Linked DNA regions of Homo sapiens: all the other regions are linked to region 1. The links are contacts of gene promoters, found by promoter capture Hi-C in human tissues and cell types (Jung and others, 2019). All regions are on one chromosome and are shown on one strand. The core of a region is centred on a gene start or on the middle of the fragment in contact, and the rest is flanking DNA. Distances in the headings are between cores, read along the strand shown.

Evidence for each region. The method cuts DNA at HindIII sites, captures the fragments that hold promoters and counts their contacts. A contact is called where the count stands out against the background at its distance.
Region 2: a contact is called between a fragment that was not itself captured here and the fragment with the promoter of GPD1 in region 1, in 1 of the 25 tissues and cell types used here (dorsolateral prefrontal cortex).
Region 3: the fragment with the promoter of SLC11A2 here is called in contact with the fragment with the promoter of GPD1 in region 1 in 1 of the 25 tissues and cell types used here (liver).
Region 4: a contact is called between a fragment that was not itself captured here and the fragment with the promoter of GPD1 in region 1, in 1 of the 25 tissues and cell types used here (spleen).
Region 5: a contact is called between a fragment that was not itself captured here and the fragment with the promoter of GPD1 in region 1, in 1 of the 25 tissues and cell types used here (dorsolateral prefrontal cortex).
Region 6: a contact is called between a fragment that was not itself captured here and the fragment with the promoter of GPD1 in region 1, in 2 of the 25 tissues and cell types used here (aorta and liver).
Region 7: a fragment that was not itself captured here is called in contact with the fragment with the promoter of GPD1 in region 1 in 1 of the 25 tissues and cell types used here (dorsolateral prefrontal cortex).

What each region holds. Positions count from the first base shown.
Region 1 is chr12:50,102,648-50,105,367 of GRCh38, reverse strand. GPD1 (glycerol-3-phosphate dehydrogenase 1) reads right to left here and starts at 1,360. Exons shown (of 8, transcript NM_005276.4): 1 at 1,277-1,360; 2 at 617-794. The coding sequence starts at 1,317. RefSeq lists an enhancer at 2,301-2,350. The HindIII fragment of the contact is 8,009 bases long and covers 1-2,720 here.
Region 2 is chr12:50,665,858-50,668,857 of GRCh38, reverse strand. The region is part of intron 4 of DIP2B (disco interacting protein 2 homolog B); the gene reads right to left. Among named protein-coding and RNA genes, the nearest start is that of ATF1, 97 kb to the left of the region's middle. The HindIII fragment of the contact is 3,395 bases long and covers 1-3,000 here.
Region 3 is chr12:51,024,717-51,027,738 of GRCh38, reverse strand. SLC11A2 (solute carrier family 11 member 2) reads left to right here and starts at 1,355. Exons shown (of 16, transcript NM_000617.3): 1 at 1,355-1,429. RefSeq lists silencers at 975-1,694, 1,705-1,764 and enhancers at 1,170-1,781, 1,782-2,395. The HindIII fragment of the contact is 17,071 bases long and covers 1-3,022 here.
Region 4 is chr12:49,271,386-49,274,452 of GRCh38, reverse strand. TUBA1C (tubulin alpha 1c) reads right to left here. Exons shown (of 4, transcript NM_032704.5): 4 at 1-2,200. The coding sequence ends at 1,226. Among named protein-coding and RNA genes, the nearest start is that of TUBA1C, 7.8 kb to the right of the region's middle. RefSeq lists a silencer at 173-467. The HindIII fragment of the contact is 6,713 bases long and covers 1-3,067 here.
Region 5 is chr12:50,768,550-50,771,404 of GRCh38, reverse strand. All of the region lies in intron 1 of ATF1 (activating transcription factor 1), which reads right to left. Among named protein-coding and RNA genes, the nearest start is that of ATF1, 5.9 kb to the right of the region's middle. RefSeq lists enhancers at 1,497-1,997, 1,998-2,498. The HindIII fragment of the contact is 6,244 bases long and covers 1-2,855 here.
Region 6 is chr12:50,625,354-50,628,100 of GRCh38, reverse strand. It overlaps DIP2B (disco interacting protein 2 homolog B), which reads right to left. Exons shown (of 38, transcript NM_173602.3): 2 at 2,054-2,125. Among named protein-coding and RNA genes, the nearest start is that of DIP2B, 120 kb to the right of the region's middle. The HindIII fragment of the contact is 7,348 bases long and covers 1-2,747 here.
Region 7 is chr12:50,694,094-50,697,113 of GRCh38, reverse strand. It overlaps DIP2B (disco interacting protein 2 homolog B), which reads right to left. Exons shown (of 38, transcript NM_173602.3): 15 at 1,754-1,847; 16 at 1,147-1,266; 17 at 1-53. Among named protein-coding and RNA genes, the nearest start is that of ATF1, 68 kb to the left of the region's middle. The HindIII fragment of the contact is 3,836 bases long and covers 1-3,020 here.

The sequences.
Region 1 (2,720 bases), core at 111-2,610:
TACCACTCTGTCTCCCTCCAGCTGTCCTGGGCTCTTGAGGACTCCTGGAAACCTCATCCCAGCACTCTCCTATCCCTTGGCTGTGGGACAGTGCGGGAGGCCAAAAGCAGCCTGGGCTTGGCAAAAGAAAGAGCTCAAATAAGATTTCATCACCCAGCTCCTCAGGAACCCCAGCTGGGAAGGGGGAGCCCCAGCCTTTCTGCTCTCTTCCCTGCTTCCCCTTTCCAGGTGGGGAGAGCCACGTGGATTTGACCAAAGACCGTAAGTCCAAGGAGCAGCCTCCAAGTCGGCTACTCACTCAGTGAATGAGTAACAGGATTAGTGCCGGAGGCAGGCACTACTGGACCCCAAGTCTGGGAGCCCAGTCTTTGGCTGCCATGGAGACCAACTTGTTCTCCCATCCCTTCCCCACCCACCCGCCTGGGAGCCTGTGAGGGGAAAGCATAGGTTCTCCTCAGTCCTCAGGAAAGGGCCCAGAGCAGCCCTCCTGAGACCTTCCCAAGTCCTGCTGCACCTGAAGCGGCCCTCTCAGCAGGAGGCACCTGTTGAGTAAGGTCGGCTCCAACTCCTGGCCCTCCCTTCCTCTCCCTGTTCTTCGCAGGGTGTTGGGGCTCACCACATTTGGGGGCAACTTGTGCCCTGGCAGGTATTTGACATTCTCATGCTGCGTGTTGATGATCTCAGTCAGCTTTTTGCCTCCAATGTCTTCCTCAAATACCCACATGGTCACCCGTGGGTCAAACTGTGCCAGCTGGGCTGCATTGCCACCCACGATCTTGGCGATGGCTGAGCCCCTGGTGGGAGGGGGAGCACAGGAAAGTACAGGAGGAGGGAACAGTGGCAGGAGTTGGGGCAGCGCCCCACCTCAGGATCTCACAGCAGCCCCCCAGGCTGTTCACTCCTACCTACCTTCCTTATCACCTCCACTCCCATGACAAATAGTCCCCAGTGACCTGGCAGTAGAAAGGAGACTCAGTCTCCTCACCCTTTGCTACTAGAGAAGGGAGCCCCACTTCTCATCTTCCCACCCCCAAACTCAAGCGGCTCTTCACATAGAGAGCTCTGGAGACGCCTTCCCATGGTGAACAGGTGCAGCTGCCCAGGAGGGCGGGGGTCAGGAGAGGGCCGGGCACCGTCTGTCCTGTGCTGCTATGATAGAAGATAGCAGCAGGGGCTGAACAGGAACCTGAGGGCCTTTCCCACCCATTCTGCCTCCTACCCACCTCTGTCTTGGGGGGCCTACCCTTCCCCCATATCACTTGACAGAGCTGCTTACCAGTTCCCGGAGCCTACAATGCAGACTTTCTTGCTAGCCATGGTGCCGCGTCTCTGCCTGAGCCGGCTCAGTGCCACACTCCCTAGCTCCTCTGCCGGCTAGGAGCATTTAACTCCACCACACGTGGGTGCAGCCAAGCCCCGCCCTCCAGGGGTGGGTGGGGAGGCTGGCGCCCAGGGAGATAGAGAGTCTGGCAGAGCCAGGGAAAGGAGAGACAGGGGTACAGACAGGTGTGGAACAGGAATGGGGCAGAGACTAGGCCCAGCTTTTTCTCCTGGGCTCATCGGCTGACAGTGCTGGCAAGCTTCTTCCCTTGGCCCCAGCCCAGCTTCCCACCATGGTCTCATTTTGAGGTCTGCTAAGAAAATAGCCCAGATAAGGAGCAGGTGACTGCTCTCCCTTGCTCCTTTCTGTCCCCCAGCATGAAATAAATTGTATTTAGCTTCAGTAGCAGCTAGGGGAATGCTTTTCAGAGGTAGGCTCCTCCATGACCCCCTATCCCCCCGCCAACCCTGCCACATATCCTCACAGGACCCTGTTCCACAGTTCTGTCCTCCAGCAGGCCCACGCTAGCTCCACTGCAGGGCTGGGGTGGGGGATGTGGGCCCACTTCCCACCTCTAAAGATGAGGCCACATAAGAGGTAAGGGCCTGCTTTGAGGACAGCCCAGCTCAAAAAAGGATGAGAGACTCCAGGTGCCTCAAAAGACAAGATTGTCTTGGTCACCCACAGAGGTCATCTTGGGGACTCATCCATGGGCCTCTCAGATGATCCCCACCCAAAAATGTGTTCTAGGGAAGGTGGGAAAGGTTAAAGTTAGAGAGCTCTGAGAATTGCGGTACACAATTTTGTTGTAGACTCTGGGCTTAAGAGGACAGGAGAGAATAGGAGGCAGGCAGAGTGCACACTGTCCTTGAAAGGCTTTGAGCCTCCTTCAACTCCTCCTCTCAGGGGTTTCCAAGGTACTGCCCCAGGGGCTTCATCAGGTGAATGGCTAGTTTGCAGAGGCCAGAAAAGGGGAAGGCAGGCAGTACCCGGGGCAGCTGTGTCCGTGGGGCTTTGTGGTCTCAGATGCTGTGATTGGGGGTAAGTTTGGTGTATGTTTTTTGGGGAAGGGCGAGAATGGAAGGAGCACCCTCAGCAGTTCAGGGCTCTGCATCGCCCACGGCCATCTGTTTGTCTAAGACGAGGGAAGCTCTGGTTTCCAGGCTGATCTGGAGAGTGGAGCAAGAGGCTCCTAACACTGTGCACCTTGGCCTAGAGGGCAGACACCACTGTGTGCTCATGTGCTGACCTCCTGGCTTGGCAGACGGCTAGGTGGGTGTTGCCATCCCCCTGGGCTGTTGCTGGCCAGCAACTGGTAACAAGCACTGGGCTACAGGGGAGTCTGTGTGCAACCCATGGGTAGGAGTAAGCAGGCAGGAGGTCAAGACTGGGGAGAAAT
Region 2 (3,000 bases), core at 234-2,733, 560 kb before region 1:
TTTCAACTGTACCCCGGGACACAAATATTCCTGTCTTAGCAAACATGTTAAAAAAAACAGAGAGGAAGTTGGGATAGGGCCCCTAGGATAGGTGAATTTGACCTTAAGAATAAAGTATTTTCAAGGTAAGTTATCTCAAGATTCCACAATCTCCATTGGATTTGTGGGCTGCTTTTATTGTATCATTTTATTGTATCATTTATATGTATTTTAATTTGTTTAAGTTTAAAATCAGAATAACCCAATTTTAAAAAGACAGTAAAACCAGTATTTTCATGATTAGGTTTATGGAAAATGGGTTTCATTATGTTTCTATATTGGATCAATTATGCAATTAGGTGTATTGTTTCAATTCAGTTACCCTGTTTGTCTGCCAGTCTTCAGTGTTTAATGACTTACAACTATGGGGCAGCTTAGCGTAGTGGAAAAAAACATGGCTTTGGTGTCAGTCTTCCATTCAAACTCTAGGATCCACCTCTTACTAGCTATGTGACTTGGGGATAAAATTACCCATCTGAGAAGACTGTTTACTTATTCGTCCATTTGACAAACACACTAAGCACTACAGTAGTTGGTAGGAATAAAAAGTTGGGCAAGAAGACATAGTCCCTATTCTTATGGGACTGAGATGAGTTAGAGGAGTTCAAGGCAGGCACCCAAGGAAGTAAGACCTAACCCAAGGCCTGATGGCTAAGTAGGGATTAGTTATGAAAGGCCCAGAGGTAGGGAGAGTGCAGCGTCAGGTAGAGGGGGCTGCACGCGAGAAAGCTTGGAGGGGACAGAAAACTTTTTAAAGATATTAAAGAAACAGAGACTAGCCAGAGCACAGATGCAAGACTGATAGTCATGGAGATGAGACTGGACAAGTAGGTAGCATTGGGCCACCAAGGGCCTTGTAAGACAAGCTAAGGAAACTTGCCTTTATCCTAACCATAGCTGGGAGACCATGAACAAAGACACTGTACAGAAAGCACCCATACTGGTGCCAGCCCATAGCACCTGGCCAATCAACATTAATTCCTCTTCTAATCCCCAGGAGAATGGTTAAAAGGAATGTGTATTTCTTTTTGATTTGGAATAACCTGAAATTTTTCCTAAGAGTAATTTAAATGGCTAATTGCTTCCTATAAACATGAAGGGAAAGATAGCAGAAACTGACTAACAGTTGGTAGAAGAAAATAATACTGTGCCAAATGATGCCACCTGAGAAATGAGGTGCTTACTATGAATAACTCAACCTATGGTCACAGATAAGAAACTATCCGGGTAAAGTTAAAAGACGATTATGTAGTGAAGTCTACATAAAATGTAGCACTGCTCTGGGATTGTATCTTTTTAAAAATCAAAACAAGGTCCCTTAAATATTATTTTAAAAGCAATTTGTCACCCAGGAAATTGTTATGAATTTGTAGAAATTTGGGCAAAATTAAATAATAGAAATTTATCATTTCCCTACTGATTCTGCTCTGATTAAAAATAAACTCATGACTGTTATCACTTATAAATAAAACATCTTCCCTAAGCTCTTATATATAACGAATACGCAACAGAAAACAATTCTGAAAACATAGTTTGCCTTTCAGTTTATAATCTGCTGTGATTTTAACAAGGCACCATTGAATACTGGTCACCAGAAGCCTACAATCCATCTATAACCAATTAGTAAACATATAAACAATTAGCATGTTGGCCGGGCGCATTGTCTCACGCCTGTAATCCCAAGCACTTTGGGAGGTTGAGGCGGATGAACTGCTTGAGCTCAGGAGTTTGAGACCAGCCTGGGCAACATGACAAAAACCTGTCTCTACAAAAAATGCAAAACTTAGCTAAGTGTGGTGGTGTGTGCCTATAGTCTCAGCTACTTGAGAGGATGGCCTGAGCCCAGGAATTTGCTAATTCCTTTTATTCTTTTTTTGAGACAGGGTCTCCTGCCTCAGCGTCCCGAGTAGCTGGGACTACAGGCGCCCGCCACCATGCCCGGCTAATTTTTTGTATTATTTAGTAGAGACAAGGTTTCAGCGTGTTAGCCAGGATGGTCTTGATCTCCTGACCTCGTGATCCACCCACCTCAGCCTCCCAAAGTTCTGGGATTACAGGCGTGAGCCACCACGCCCGGCCTCAGGCAAGCTTTTTTGACAGGTTCCTTTTTTCTAATTCACCCAACTGCTAAAGATGCAAGTCCCTCCAGGGATCTTAATTCCAGCTTGCAACCTTAGATGGGCCCAAGGTTTTATCATTATAGTTAACATTAAGGTCCCTGGCTTGCTGATTCTCCTCCCTACAGCCCAGCGGAAGTAAGCACCACCTCACCATTCTGATTTTTCAGTGTTCATCATTCTCCCTTGCTCCTGTATACATTTTTTAAAAAGCTGGTTACATTTTACCCAGTATTTCTAAAAGAACATTTTCTTTCCCCTATCTTTCTAGGAGATAATTTTCAGGTTATCTAACTGATATGTCTAAAAACAGAAGTCTGGGCAAGTTATTGAGCCTCTCTAAACCTGTTTTCTCTTCTGTAAAATGGGGTAGAAAACTGTTGAGTGAACTAAAAATGAAAAAAATATATGTTAAGCACTTAGCCCTTTGACTGGTACACTGAGGGCATGCAATAAATGGTAACCATAACATTACTCTTATCAGCAAACCTTAAATTTTACAATCAGGTATTGAAACAAATTCAACCGGATACAGTGGGTTTTTATTGTACTTTGGCTTAAAGAACACTGGATATTCACTAGTCTCCCAAGTAATTGTGGACCATTGGTCCTACCCCACACCAATCATAAAATACACTATTAAAATGATCTGACTCTATTAATTAGAGCACATTTATTATGGAGGTCTGATTTGCCAACTTTGTTTACTTTGTGGTTTAGGTTAAAATTAGAATATTTAGGAAAGACTCCCCAACCTGGTAAATCAGCAGGTATTCTAAGTTCAAATTAACTGACTGATACATATTTAGGACTATAACCATTCAGAAGACAACAGTTATTTAAT
Region 3 (3,022 bases), core at 106-2,605, 920 kb before region 1:
GGGGAGTGAGGGTGGCGGGAGGATCTAATGTTTTTGGTGGCTGTAAACGACATTGCAGAAAATTACGGTAATTTGTTAGGCCATTTATTCCCTCTTCACCAGTTTGGCAGTCTCATCTTCAGAGCAAAAGATACGGTGTGAGGCTGAAACTGGCGATAGAGTGGGATTGCTTTTGGGTAGGTAGGATGAAGTCTGGGGAGAATCGAGTCAGCTGGGCGAGGAGGAAAACAATTCACTACGGAGGCTTGGGAGGACACCTAAGGCGGTCAAACTGGCTGCACTAGCTGATGTTTCTCGGTTCCTCCCAGGTGTGGGGTGCTCTTGGTGGGGCAGCAGATACTATGATGTGGCTCTGGGGGCGCGAGGAAATGTTCCTTCCAGGTGGCTATCCTTTTTTTTTGAGACAGGGTTTTGCTCTGCCACCCAGGCTGGAGTGCAGTGGCACGATCTTGTCTCACCGCAGCCTCCACCTCCCAGGCCCAAGTGATTCTCCCACCTCAGCCCCCGAGTAGCTGGGACCACAGGCGGGCGCCGTGATGCCTGGCTAATTTTTTTTTTTTTTTAGACGGAGTTTTCGCTCTTGTTTCCAAGGCTGGAGTGCAATGGCGCGATCTCGGCTCACTGCACCTCCGCCTCCCGGGTTCAAGCGATTCTCTTGCCTCAGCCTCCCGAGTAGCTGGGATTACAGGCATGCGCCACCACGCCCGGCTAATTTTGTATTTTTAGTAAAGACGGGGTTTCTCCATGTTGGTCAGGCTGGTCTCAAACTCCCGATCTCAGGTGATTCGCCCGCCTGGGCCCTCCAAAGTGCTGGGAGTACAGGCGTGAGCCACCGCGCCCGGCCTTTGCTTGGCTAATTTTAAAATTTTTTGTAGAGACCGGGTCTCACTATGTTGCCCAGGCTGGTATCGAACTCCTGGACTCAAGTGATCCTCCCGCCTCGGTCTCCCAAAGTGCTGGGCATTACAAGTGTGAGCCTCCGCGCCTGGCCTGGCTACCCTTTACAGGATAGAGCTATACCTCGTAGCTTGATTGTCAGTACCTAACGTGGCGCCACGGCGAACTAGGGCAGGAATCTTATCTGTCCCCAGACTGCTAGCGGACTGGAGCTCCCCAGTCCAGGGGCTGTGTGGGTCTGGCCAACGCAAGCAGCAACTAGGCAGCATGCAGCTCCCGCCGGGTGCCCCAGGGGCCGCCGCGTGCCCCAGGGGCCGCCGCATCCAGACTCCGCGTGGGCGGAGCCTAGGTCCCTGGTCTGCGGGCCACGCATCCCGGCCGCTGCAGGGACTCCAGCCAATAGGGATGTGCGGCTGCCGTCCTGTCGACCAATCGCGGGGAGGGGAGGGCGTTAGCCAGCGTGGCGCTGGCTCCCGGAATATGGAGCCCTGGGCGCGGGGGCGGCGTGTCAGGTGGTTGCGGAGCTGGTAAGGTGAGGGGAAGGCAAGGTCAGGGGTCACGGCATTCCGCTCGCTGGCAGGGAGGGGCGCGGGGCGGCTCGAGGGCCTGTGTCGGGGGTCAGGCTCCGGGGCTAGGATGCGACACCGGCTCGCCGTGCGGGGCTGTGAGGGGAGGTGTGGCCAGGGAGGGCCTCAGGCCCAGAGTCCAGGACTGATGGAGTCGCGCCATTCAGAGAAAGACCCAAAGATGGGGGCAGGGAGGGAACGCCGGAGGTCGCGGGGGTCTCGCCCCTTCCCCGCCGCGGCCTAGGACACATGGCCCAGCTCCCAGCTGCACCGGATGGCGCGCCCGGCCTGTGTCGGGGTGCGCTGACCTGCTTCGACGCCTCGAAAGAGGCCGACGGGCACAGGGCAAGGTCTTTCGTGGCCTCTTCGTCGGCGCCGCAGGGGGCCGGGCTGCTCTCCGGGGCCTCCCGCCGCCCCGCTTCAACAAAAGACTCATTATAACCTAACCGACTTCAGGGAGCGCCTTCTGTGTGAATAGCCTGCATACGCGGCTCAGTAATTGTGGGTAGATTGGTTTTAAGGCTGTTTGTGTAGCTCTCAGGGACCCTCTGGATTCCAGGCTCCAATGAGCAGGGTTTTTCTACAGGGGGATATTGCACATATGTAAGTGGGCTGGATGGCTCTCCCAGCTGTGCGTTTCATGTGTCCCCACTTTTAAAGCTACCGCTTAAATGTGACATCTCTTGCAAAAGCAAAAATTATATGGAAGGAGAGTTTGCAAGGGGAGATAGGCTTCTAAAAACTTGCTGGCCTCAATTTTAGTGACTGTTGGTGAAAAATGGAGAAGCTATGTTTACACTGACTTCTGGAACCCGAAGCCCCACCAGTTCGCATGATTTCTTGGCTTTGTAAATCTTTGAGCATGTTGTTTGCCTCTTTCTTCTTTTGTTCCACGTACTTAAAATGGGGATTGATAATATCAGTCTTACAGGGTTGTTGGTATGAAATTAGTTAATAAACAACAAAGTACTTAGAACTCTTGATGTGGAGGAGTTTTTGTTGTTGTTACCTTCTTTCCCCTTAACACTTCTAAAGAATTCTAACCTTATTACTTATTCTTTGCTCAGAGTCTCATGACTTATCACCAGTGAACCCGCCGGCCTATACTTTCCATTGACATCATTAACTTTGATCTGAGGGTATAGTGTAGTTATATGTGACTAGAGGATTTCTGCTGCGTGTTTGTTTTATTAAATACGGTTGGAAACTATCATTATACTAGGTCATTTATTGTGATACCTGTGTTGGGTAAATGAAACCTGAAACCTTCGGCTGTTTATTTTTTCATTGGACAGTATTTCATTGACAGTCTTGCTTGGCCTACTCAGTTTATTTTGGAGCCAGTACTAAAAAGGCCATGATTGCAGCATACTTGGTTTCTCATGTTTCCGGAATGGCAGTGGGACTCGGGAGGGGAATTTCTGGGTAGCCTGGCAGCACTTCTTGTTAAGGAATGGGGAAGCTTCTTATGAATCTAATCTTACTCTAATGTTAGGAAATCAGCAGTGGTCCCTTGGATTACTCTACAAAGCTAGTAGGCAGCTTTGGTTCAGTTATGA
Region 4 (3,067 bases), core at 104-2,603, 830 kb after region 1:
TTATTAAAAAACGTATCTAGGGGCCAGGTGTAGTGGCTCACTCCTGTAATCCCAGCACTTTGGGAGGCTGAGGCAGGATTGCCTGAGCCCAGGAGTTCAAGGCCAGCCTAAGCAACATGGCAAAACCCCATCTCTACCAAAAAAAAAAAAAAAAAAAAAAAAAAAAATTACAAGAATCAGCCAGGCATGGTGGAACACACCTGTAGTCCTGGCTACTTGGGAGGCTGAGGTGGGAGGATGGCTTAGCCCAGGTCAAGGTGGGGGTGAGCTATGATGGTGCCATTGCACTGCAGCCTGGGAAAGAGACCATCTCAAAGAAAAAAAATTTAAGACGTGTCTGAAGCCTCACCTCAAGCCTATAGAATTAGAACCTGCATTTTGTTTTTAAATTTGAGAGTCAGGGGTCTCCGTCACCCAGGCTGGAATGCAGTGGTGCAATCATGGCTCACTACCTCAACCTCCTTGGGCTCAGGTGGTCCTCCCACCTATAGGCAGGTGCCATCACAGCATGCAAATTTTTGTTTTGGTAGAGATGGGTTTTCACCATGTTGCCCAGGCTGGTCTCGAATTCCTGGGCTCGTGATCCACCCAACTTGGCCTCCCGAAGTGCATGAGCCACCAGGTTGACCCCAAACCTGCATTTTAATATCTACAGGTGATTCACATCCATTTTAGTTAGAGAAGCACTGGCTCAATCTGAACCCGTTTCCTCACTTACAAAATGATTCTATAACCACTTAATTCAGGCCCAAATTAAACAGATAAACCAAGAAGCTGGGCAGTGGCTCATGCCTATAATCAAAACTTTGAGAGGTTGAGGCAGGAGGATCACTTGAAGCCAGTTGAAGACCACCCTGGGCAGCATAGCAAGGCCCCATCTCTACAAGAAATAAAAATAGCTGGGCATGGTGGTGTGCACCTGCAGTCCCCAGCTACTTAGGAGGCTGAAGCAGGAGAATCACATGAGTCCAGGAGCTCGAGGCTGCAATGAGCTATGTATTATCATGCCACTGCACTCCAGCCTGGGTGACAGAGCAAGACCCTCGACTCAGGTGGTTTCATCTACCAGCCTCATACATCCAACTTTAACTGGATCAAGTATTTAAGTCAGCTCGACATTTAAAATGGAAACTTCAATTTTATTAACAATTTACGGCAATAGACATTTACAGAACAAAAATAAGACAGTTCCAAGACAAAGGAGTGTAAAAGTACAGCACACAGGTTAATACTCTTCACCCTCATCCTCTCCGTCAGCACTATCTGCTCCAACCTCCTCATAATCCTTCTCAAGGGCAGCCATGTCCTCACGGGCCTCTGAAAACTCGCCTTCCTCCATCCCCTCACCCACGTACCAGTGAACAAAGGCACGCTTGGCATACATCAGGTCAAACTTGTGGTCCAGGCGAGCCCAGGCCTCGGCAACAGCTGTGGTATTGCTCAGCATGCACACAGCTCTCTGTACCTTGGCCAGGTCTCCGCCAGGCACCACAGTGGGAGGCTGGTAATTAATGCCAACCTTGAAGCCAGTGGGGCACCAATCCACAAACTGGATGGTACGCTTGGTTTTGATGGTGGCAATGGCAGCATTGACATCTTTGGGAACCACGTCACCACGGTATAACAGGCAGCAAGCCATGTATTTACCATGGCGAGGGTCACATTTCACCATCTGGTTGGCTGGCTCAAAGCAAGCATTGGTGATCTCTGCTACAGTAAGCTGTTCGTGGTAGGCTTTCTCAGCAGAGATGACAGGGGCATATGTGGCCAGAGGGAAGTGGATGCGGGGGTAGGGCACCAGGTTGGTCTGGAATTCTGTCAGGTCAACATTCAGGGCTCCATCAAATCTCAGGGAAGCAGTGATGGAGGACACAATCTGGCTAATAAGGCGGTTAAGGTTAGTGTAGGTTGGGCGCTCGATATCGAGGTTTCTACGACAGATGTCATAGATGGCCTCATTGTCTACCATGAAGGCACAATCAGAGTGCTCCAGGGTGGTGTGGGTGGTGAGGATGGAGTTGTAGGGCTCAACTACAGCTGTGGAAACCTGGGGCGCCGGGTAAATGGAGAACTCCAGCTTGGACTTCTTGCCATAATCAACTGAGAGACGTTCCATGAGCAGCGAGGTGAACCCAGAACCAGTTCCCCCACCAAAGCTGTGGAAAACCAAGAAGCCCTGAAGACCGGTGCACTGGTCAGCCTGCAAAATAAAAAAGTTTCATTTTAGTGTTGCGAAAGTTTCATTTAGTGTTCACATTTGGTGAAACCTACAGAGGACTTCTATAAATCTATGGCTACTCCAATTGCAATTTTAAAACTCTTCTGGGCCAGGCGCAGTGGCTCACGCCTGTAATCAACACTTTGGGGGTCCAAGGTGGGAGGACCATTTGCATTTGAGCCCAGGGGTTCAAGACTGATGATCAGGCCACTGCACTCCAGCCTGGATGACAGAGCAGACCCTGTCTCCAAAAAAAAAAAAAAGCTTTTAAGTGCTAAGTGATTCAGAACAACTTTTCACAATCAAGTCCTTGAGCAGAAAAACCTTTGCTAAGACTATTTTAAGATGAACTATTGCCTTAGGCAGAGGAATCACAAGGCCTGGGCTTGCATACAGGGCTCAAGTTTTGGTAACTGGGAAGGCAGCCTCTGGTTCTCTTGCTGTGGCCACAGAACAGGGCAGTTTCTTAGTTGGAGAGGTCCTAAGGGGCAGGCCCAGGACCACCAGCCTGGTACAGTGGATGTCTTGTAAAGATTTGGCAGCTGCTTTCTGAGGTGGAACAACAGAATAGCCAAAGTTCTAACACCCTGGTACTGGAGTCAGGCTGTGTCAGGATCCGGCTGTACCAGTTCCTTACTGTATGACCACATTCATTTCTCAGTTCTTCCACTGATTAAGTGAGAATAGTAATCACCTTAGGTTGAGAATTAAGTAAGTACTCAGCATAGTGCTTGGCACAGTAAGCACAGTATTGGCCCAGTAAGCCAATATATGACACTAGGTACCAAGAAGCCCATTTATTTTGGGTAAAGTGACACAACCACAATTCCATGAGACCTCAGGTTGTTG
Region 5 (2,855 bases), core at 344-2,843, 670 kb before region 1:
GGTATCTGGAAAATTAGTAAGAAAACGTTCAGTAAGCTTGTCCTGTATTCCTACACAAAAAGTATAACAGCAATATATTCCACAAGAGTAAAGCAAAATAGGCTGGGTACAGTGGCTCACACCTGTAATCCAGCACTTTGGGAGGCCGAGGCAGGTGGATTACCTGAGGTCAGGAGTTCGAGGCCAGCCTGGCCAACATGGTGAAACCCTATCTCTACTAAAAATATAAAAGTCAGCTGGGCGTTGTGATGTGTGCCTGTAATTCTAGCTACTTGGGAGGCTGAGGCAGGAGAATCACTTGAACCCAGGAGGCGGAGGCTGCAGTGAGCCAAGATGGTGTCACTGCAGTCCAGCCTGGGCGACAGAACAAGACTCTGTCTCAAAAAGAAAGAAAGAAAAAAAAAAGAGTAAAGCAAAATAAGTAAAGTTATTCCAAATAAACTAAATTAGAAGACTTTTCATGAACCAGGCAACCACTGGAACTAAGCTGATATCGGGTTGTTAGCTGATTGTAATGTGCCCAGAATCAGAATACTGATCCAGATTTTTAAATTACCCATCCCTCTTATTTCTTCTGAGCAACAATTAGAGATTACTGGTTGGTTTACAAGAATACGCAGGGTTAGCCTAAATTGCAGAAACAAACTTAAAAACAATTAATGAGACCAGAATTTAATAACAAGTGTACCATAGTTTTTGAAACATAGTATTTCTCTCTCCAGTTTCCCATTTTTACTAAAGACAAATTATGGTAAGACTGACTTGCTTTATTATACTTGGCCTGATTGTTTGTATAAAGTGCAGCAAGAATAATAATTTTTCACATAGGCTTTTTAATTGGCTTTGATGGAACTCTGTTTCATAAGGAATCTCAGATAAGACTTTTTTAAAAGCCAAGCCCTGACATGGGTTTGTACCCTTAAATACCTATAACTTGGGTAAATTTCTCTCCTTTTGAGGTCCCAAGATAACTTGGGGCTCCTGGACAGGTGAGAAAGTGACATTCTTTACTTACCATAGGTCAGAAACCCTGTACAGGCACTGTGTAGGCAAGGTATGAGGCCAGTTCCCCAAAGGGCTTTTATTGGCTCTACAAGTCAAGTTTGATTCCTTAAAGAAAAGCACACCATTTCAGTCAAAGCCTTGGTAAAATAACCACTTTCTCCAATTGTATTCTGTTACAAAAGAAAACAGATTCTTATTGCACTTATGCAAATAATTACATTGCCATAAGTTAAGAATACTCACAACTAGTTTCCAAATTCTGGAGAAATCTGATATAGAGAAACAAATATGTTCCAAATTTCGTTCACAGCAGTATACTTTACTCAATTGCTATGAACTGTAAATAGCTCAAATGAAAAGTTTCCTTGACTCTGAAAAACAAAACAAAGGATCAGCAACATTTTAATCAAAGATTACTTCAGTTTTCTATTGGTTCAGTTGATTCAATTAACTCATGTTTCATTTGATATTCATGAACATTCTAGCTCTTCATGAGTTCTGAAAGTTGTTTCCTCTATTCTAATGTTACAATTTCCAAAGTTATTAGAAACCTGCATTTAAGAACACCTGCTAGAGTTCTATAGCTGATTATAAATCATCTTCTAAACAGGATTAAAACAAGACAACAATTGTCTGTGGATGATAAAAAGTTTTAGGAGAGCCACTATTAAAGCCAGAAATGATAAGGAAATTTGGTTACTTCTGTGGCACACAATATTTTGCATAACAATTATAATTATTAATAACATACACTAAATCATATTAGAATTATAGGAGTTTCCCATAACTTTGGAACATATACCAATAATACAGTTATGTAAATATAATCCAAAGAAAGCAAAACACCATTTGACATTTGATAATGCTTCCTGTATGAATTTTTTTTTTTTTTGAGATGGAGTCTCGCTCTGTCACCCAGGCTGGATAGAGTGCAGTGGTGCAATCTCAGATCACTGCAACCTCCCCCTCCCAGGTTCAAGCGCTTCTCCTGCCTCAGCCTCGAGTAGCTGTGACTACAGGTGTGCGCCACCATGCCCGGCTAACTTTTGTATTTTTTGATAGAGATGGGGTTTCACCATGTTGGCCAGACTGGTCTCAAACTCCTAACCTCAGGTGATCCATCTGCCTCGACCTCCCTAAGTGCTGGGATTACAGGTTTGAGCCACTGTGCCCGGCCAACTTAGAATAATTATTTAACTCTTTAGCCAAAAAACCCCACATTTCCATGCCTTCTTATAATCTTTTACCAAAAGTACATTCTATTTTCCTTACTACACACCTTACATGTAAAACTGTCTCTTCAATAGTCTCAGTTACATGTTCCAATTTTAACTTTTAGCGACTTTTACTTTTGGTGAAAACCCTGGTTAGTAAGCAATTTTAATTATGTACTAGGTGTGGAGCCTAGCCTAGGACACACCAGGCAGAAGTGCAGATAAGAGCTGACTCTCCAGCACAGCTTAGGGGCGTGGCTAACTCCACATGTCCCCAGGCCTTATCTAGAATCTAATGGCTTTAAGGTAGGGTAAATTGAACAATTTTTAAAAGTCAAAGAAACAGTTTATGACCTCAAATCATTTAACAAACTTAATATCTGACCTGCATAATTAAGATTAACATTTTTATCAATTTTAAAGATGTGTTTATTTCCTAAAGATTACTAAAGTTACATGAACTAAAAGGCATTAGTTATTTTGCTTTCAAAATATTTGATTTAAATGTTTATTTTTGTTTAAGCTGATTAATCAGAGCTCTTTTATATAAATATTACACACGACACCTATATAGCTACACAGAAAGACAGATGATGATGATAACAGTGGTTGTAAGATTTTTCATTTGCCAGTTTT
Region 6 (2,747 bases), core at 25-2,524, 520 kb before region 1:
CACGCTCGGCCCATCATTGCTTTTTAAGTTCTCTACAGATACTGTGTGCCTTACTGACTGCAACCAGGTAGACTGCTCTCACTGCCCTATCCTTGGTGCCATTGGATAGTATAAGATTTGGGGAAAAGGAGGAGGGGTTGGGATCTAAAGCATAGGTAGAAGGACTGTCCTTGGCCAGGAGGAACAGATAATCTTTTTAACCAGAAGGAAGGAAGTAATCATGGAAGGGGACAGATGTTGGAAGTGTGGCATCAGGAAGTTGAAGGAGTTGTCATCGTATGCCTTCTATTTCCCCTGTGAGGTCACCTGCAAGGCCATCCCTACTGGGGGAGGGATATGCCACATTCTCTTGGCCTACTGCAATTAAACAACTGATTCATCAAATGCATGCTCACTAAGCAAATGATTTGGTTCCCATTATAGGCTTGCCCATGGGGCAAGAATGTGCTGACCATACAGATTTCTCATAGTAGGCCAGGCGTGGTGGCTCACACCTATAACCCCCACACTCTGGGAGGCTGAGATGGCAGTACTACTTGAGCTCAGGAGTTCAAGACCAGCCTGGGCAATAAAGTGAGACCCCAACTCTACAAAAAATAATTAACTGGGTGTGGTGGCGCACACCTGTAGTTCCAGCTACTCAGGAGGCTGAGGCAGGAGGATCATTTAAACCTGGGAGATTGAGGCTGTAGTGAACCATGATCGCACCACTGCGCTCCCGCCTGGGTGACAGAGCAAGAATCTGTCTAAAAAAAAAAAATTTCTCATAGTAAATTAATAAATTGATTTTTGAACATGATTTGGTTTCTGCGTAGCCTGACTACGGATAACAAACTGTGGTCCTTTTTACAGTTATACCTCTTGCTGAGCTATTGCTTTTACACCAAGTGACTCAAGTAAATCTCTGGGCCTTCAGAGGCATGGGCCAGATCCACAATAAGCAGCAAATCAAGGTAACCTCCTCAACCCCTAGGTCATGCCTTGCTCAGCAAAAGCTGGCTTTTCACTAGCTGTCGCTGGCCCAATTTCCACCTCTTTTCTCTCAATTCATTTCTACATACACCTATTCATTGAGATATCTTAAATTAGCTGTCAGTGTATTGACCTACTAGTTTCTCTATGAAGGTATTTCCAAGAACAATACAGGAAATAAAACAAGCACATCAAAGAAATATATTGGTATATCACCATTATTTATTTATTTATTCCACTGTTCATTCAACAAATATTTACAGGCCATAAACCCTGTGCAAAGCTTACTATGAGAACTGTGGGAGATACAAAGTCCTCATGGTATTTATAATTCAGTAAAAAAAAAAAAAAAAAGCCATTAGTTCCACAAAGAACAGGCTTGCAGAAACACACTTTGGTTGAAGGGGGTAGAAAATCAGAAATAAAGACAAAACACCCTATAGTAAAAGTGATATAAGCAGAAATAGGCTGTCAAAGGAAATCCTGCAATCTGAGTAACTTTAAAAATATGATGATTATTTAGAGACAGCCTTGCTTAGAGGCAAAGGTTATGGCAACCCCTTTGGCATTAAGCATGAAATTAATTCAGGACTTTCTGATATATAAACAATGTGCTAGTCTCTCTATAGAAGCAGTAAGTCTGGCTTTGAATTAATCTACAAGTTCATTTAGGGTTTTACCCCCCAATCCTCAAGTATTGCCATTCGATAGGGGATCTGTCCTTCCTTCCTCCCTCTTGCTCTTCTTCATCACGGTTTGTGCACCATCATAAATACGATGTGGTTTTTCCATGGCTTGGAATTTTCTGCCATGGAATCATCTCAGTTATGCATAGTCTTTCACACACTACCACCCAAGTTCTGTGTAAATTATCTGATGACCTTAGGTATTTTTAAAAGTGCCTAGCACACAGCAGATGCTCATTAAGATTCATTTCCTCCTTTCTTTCCTTCCGTTTTTTTCTCTCCCCTGGTGAGGAAGGGAGGGAAAAACAGGAACAAACAAAAGATAGAGGTCTTGTAAGACAGCATCTTTTGGTGTAAAAATACTGAAAAAGTTGAAACCATTTTTTATTGCCTACCTTGTGTCTGCGGGCTGTAAGGAGATAGGAGTTTGGACCTTTTCTTTTCATAGCCCTTCTGGGTGATGTCCCCTAAAATAGCAAGAAACAGAAATAGGTTATGCATTATTCTTACTCTGTGGTTTTCCACTGTAAAAATAAAATTAATTACAGAGTTATAGAACTACCCCATATAGAGGCAGGGGGTTGGGGGGGGGAATGTATGGTTCTTTGCCAAGGATTTTGCTATGTATGATTTCCCACAGGCTTGGAGCTGACTTCCTGTAGAATACTGTAGAGCTTGTCCCAAAACCAATCTTGCATAGCAATATGTTGTATACCATGACAGAGATCCCCAAGTTCCTAGGCATCCCCAGCTTCCTTGGTATTTAAGATATCCCAAAATGGAATGCAGCAAGGCTGACAACGATTTCTCTCTGGAGTTTCAATTTACCAAATGAGTACAACTGGTTTCTGAGGTATTCACTTATACTGCTATACGAACCACATAAAAGTAAGAGAAGACAAAGTTCAGGCTCTGGATGGGATAATTAAAAGGACTTTCTGTACCCTAACACCTGTGCTGGAACCTGGGACTGGAATTCCCACATCCCCTCCCCTTGGTTCAATGCTTTGTCTTATTTACTCATGTGGCTCTCCTTTCCACAAAGTTAAATTTAAAAGTATGTATGATGCACAAATTAGTGCATATACA
Region 7 (3,020 bases), core at 110-2,609, 590 kb before region 1:
CAGTCCATGACTTTGGAACAGACTCAGGAAGGCATCACAGGATGACACGGACCCTAAGGAGTTGGAACAGATCAACCTGAAGCTGAAATTATGCTTTTCATTACTGTAGGAAAATGGTAAAGAATAGAAAGCTGACATACTTATTTCTCATGAGAACTCATATTGTATATTGTTAATTCCACGCAAATATTTTACTGTCCCTGTGAGATGGTTTGATATATTTCAAGGACAAATTAATGCTCATCCAGCCCATAAAAGGTCACTGACACTATTTAAAATTACACCTTGGAATAAGGCTGCTCCTATTAAACTGACAAATCAGTATCAGAGATAACACTGCAGGCAATATGCAGCCAGTTTATAATTTAGCAACTCTTCCTGAGGAACTGTCATAGCCAGTGCAATTTAATATTGGCTTAGCTCCACCTTCTATATGATATTAAGGTCAAGCCCATGTCTGTGTTTTAAACTATGATGATCAATGTGACTACTAACAAAGTCCATTTATGACAAACAGTGTAGTGCTCTACCTGATTCTACTGTGTGAAGGATCAGGATTTGGGGGCTTGTAGAGAAAAGCAGGTAACACAGGAATACCCAGTTACATGATAGAAAGAGGTTATACATGAATGAGCAAAAAAGAATGACTTAAAAGCTTATAGATCCATCAAAAGATGAATGAGTAAATACAATGTGGTATAACTATACAATGGACGATTTCCTGGTAGTAACAAGGAATGCAGAAGTACTGACAGATACTACAACATGGATGAACGTTAAAAACATGCTAAGAAAAAGAAGCCCATCACAAAGACCACATACTGCATGACTGCATTTATAAGAAATGTTCAGAATAGGCAAATCTAGGGAGACAGGCAATAGATTAGCAGTCATCTAGGGCTGGGGCAGGAGGAAAAATGGCGAGTGACTGATAATGGGCATGTGGTTTCTTTTTGGGTGATGAAAATGTTCTAAACTTAGATTGTAATGATGGTTACACAACTCGTGAATATACCAAAACCACTGAATTACACATCTTAAATGAGTGAGTTTTTCAGTATGTGAATTATATCTTAGTACAGGGCGAAAAACCCTAATCTATCAAAACACAGGATATTCCCAGATCCACAATGAAGAAATACTCACAGGGGTTAGCTCCATCAGTCACAATTAACATTCGGAGGGAACTCAAGCTCACGTCTCTTTGGTCCCGATGTGCCATCATAGCCCAGTGCAAGTCCCGACATTTTACTAAAGCTACCTTGGCTATAAATTCAAAAAGGATGAAGTTAACATACACAATAAATTTGGGACATATGTAATACACCACAATAAAAACATTTTTACTTATTTGGGGAATCATGATATTTGCTTGGAGAAGATAAAAACGGTTTCAAAGAGATTGTGCCAATAGCTCAGAGGCAGAAATTATCACATTTAGACAACTGACTGGACCTACAATTGTTTGTTCACTGAGACCCTCTAGGCAGGTCACAGTGTCCCAGCCAAGGAAACTGTGAATACCAAGACAGTCAAATCTAATTCAAGGCTCGCATTTGGAAAAAATTCATCTCAATGCTTAAGAGAGGACATCAGTGAGATGAACAGGCAAGGTACCTAATTCTGTAGTAACTAAACTCTACAATTTGTTAAGGGACAGGGGCATACAAGGGCAATTTGAAAATCTCTGAAATCCCTGAAATCTTAATTCAAACAGTCACATAATTAAAGCTCAGATGTTGCAGGTGACTACCTTTGTGAGCATGTACTCTTTGGACCCAAGAGAGAGGACAGGTTTTCATAACAGAGTAGGGTACGCTGATTGTGTGCATCTTATTCATTACATTCTGAAAAACAAAGAAAGAAGAAAAGTAATCAATACAAAATACATACTTAGTATTTTAAAATTGAGCTGGTATTTTGTTAGCAATTTTAATTATACAAGTAATACTCAAATACACACTCTTTGAAAACAATCTTAAATATTAAATATAAGATTGAAGTTCCTTTAATACCTACCCTCAAACCTGGTTCCCTCCTCTCCTCGCCAGAGATAATCAGTTACAAATTTGACAGATATCCTTCCAATCTTTTTTCAATGCATTTTCATAGATATTTGTTCCCATAGAAATATATAAGTATTTTTAACATAAAAGACATCATATTATACATATATCTGTAACTTGTTTTTTTCATTTAAATTGTTCTAAAGCTAAATCTATGCATATCAGTATAAGAGATCTACATAATTCTTTTTGAACTGCGGCACAGTATTCCATTGTTTGGCTATATCACAATTATTTAGGCATTTCCCTATTAATGACAATTTTTTGCTACTACAAAAAATGTTTCAAGGAGCACATTCCTACTTCCTTCCCTGGACTTGTGCAAGTATTTCCCTATATGGACATGTAGTACTGCTGTCATATGGCATATGCTTTAAAAAAAAAAAAAAAAAAGAGACAGGGGTTTCACTATGTTGCCCAGGCTGGCCTCCAATTCCTGAACTCAAGTGATTCTCTTGCCTCAGCCTCCAGGGTAGCTGGGACTGGTGTATGTATGTATGTATGTATGTATGTATGTATGTATGTATGTATGTATGTATGTATTTATTTATCTGAGACAGAGTCCTGCTCTGTTGCCCAGGCTAGAGTACAGTGGTGCGATCTCGGCTCACTGCAACCTCTGCCTCCTGGGTTCAAACAATTCTCCTGCACAGCCTCCTGAGTAGCAGGGATTACAGGTGTGCGCCACAATGTCCAGCTAATTTTTGTATTGTTAGTAGAGTTGGGATTTCACCATGTTGGCCAAGCTTGTCTTGAACTCCTGGCCTCAAGTAATTCGCCTGCCTTGGCCTCTCAAAGTGCTGGGATTACAGGCCTGAGTCACAGTGCCCGGCTGTGGTATATGCTTTTAAAATGCTAACAGACACTGCCAAACTGCCCTCCAACCCACTTAATGCTTTTATCATGTTCGTACTTGCCACATGCCACAAAGGGGCTAGCTGGGCATCACAAAGC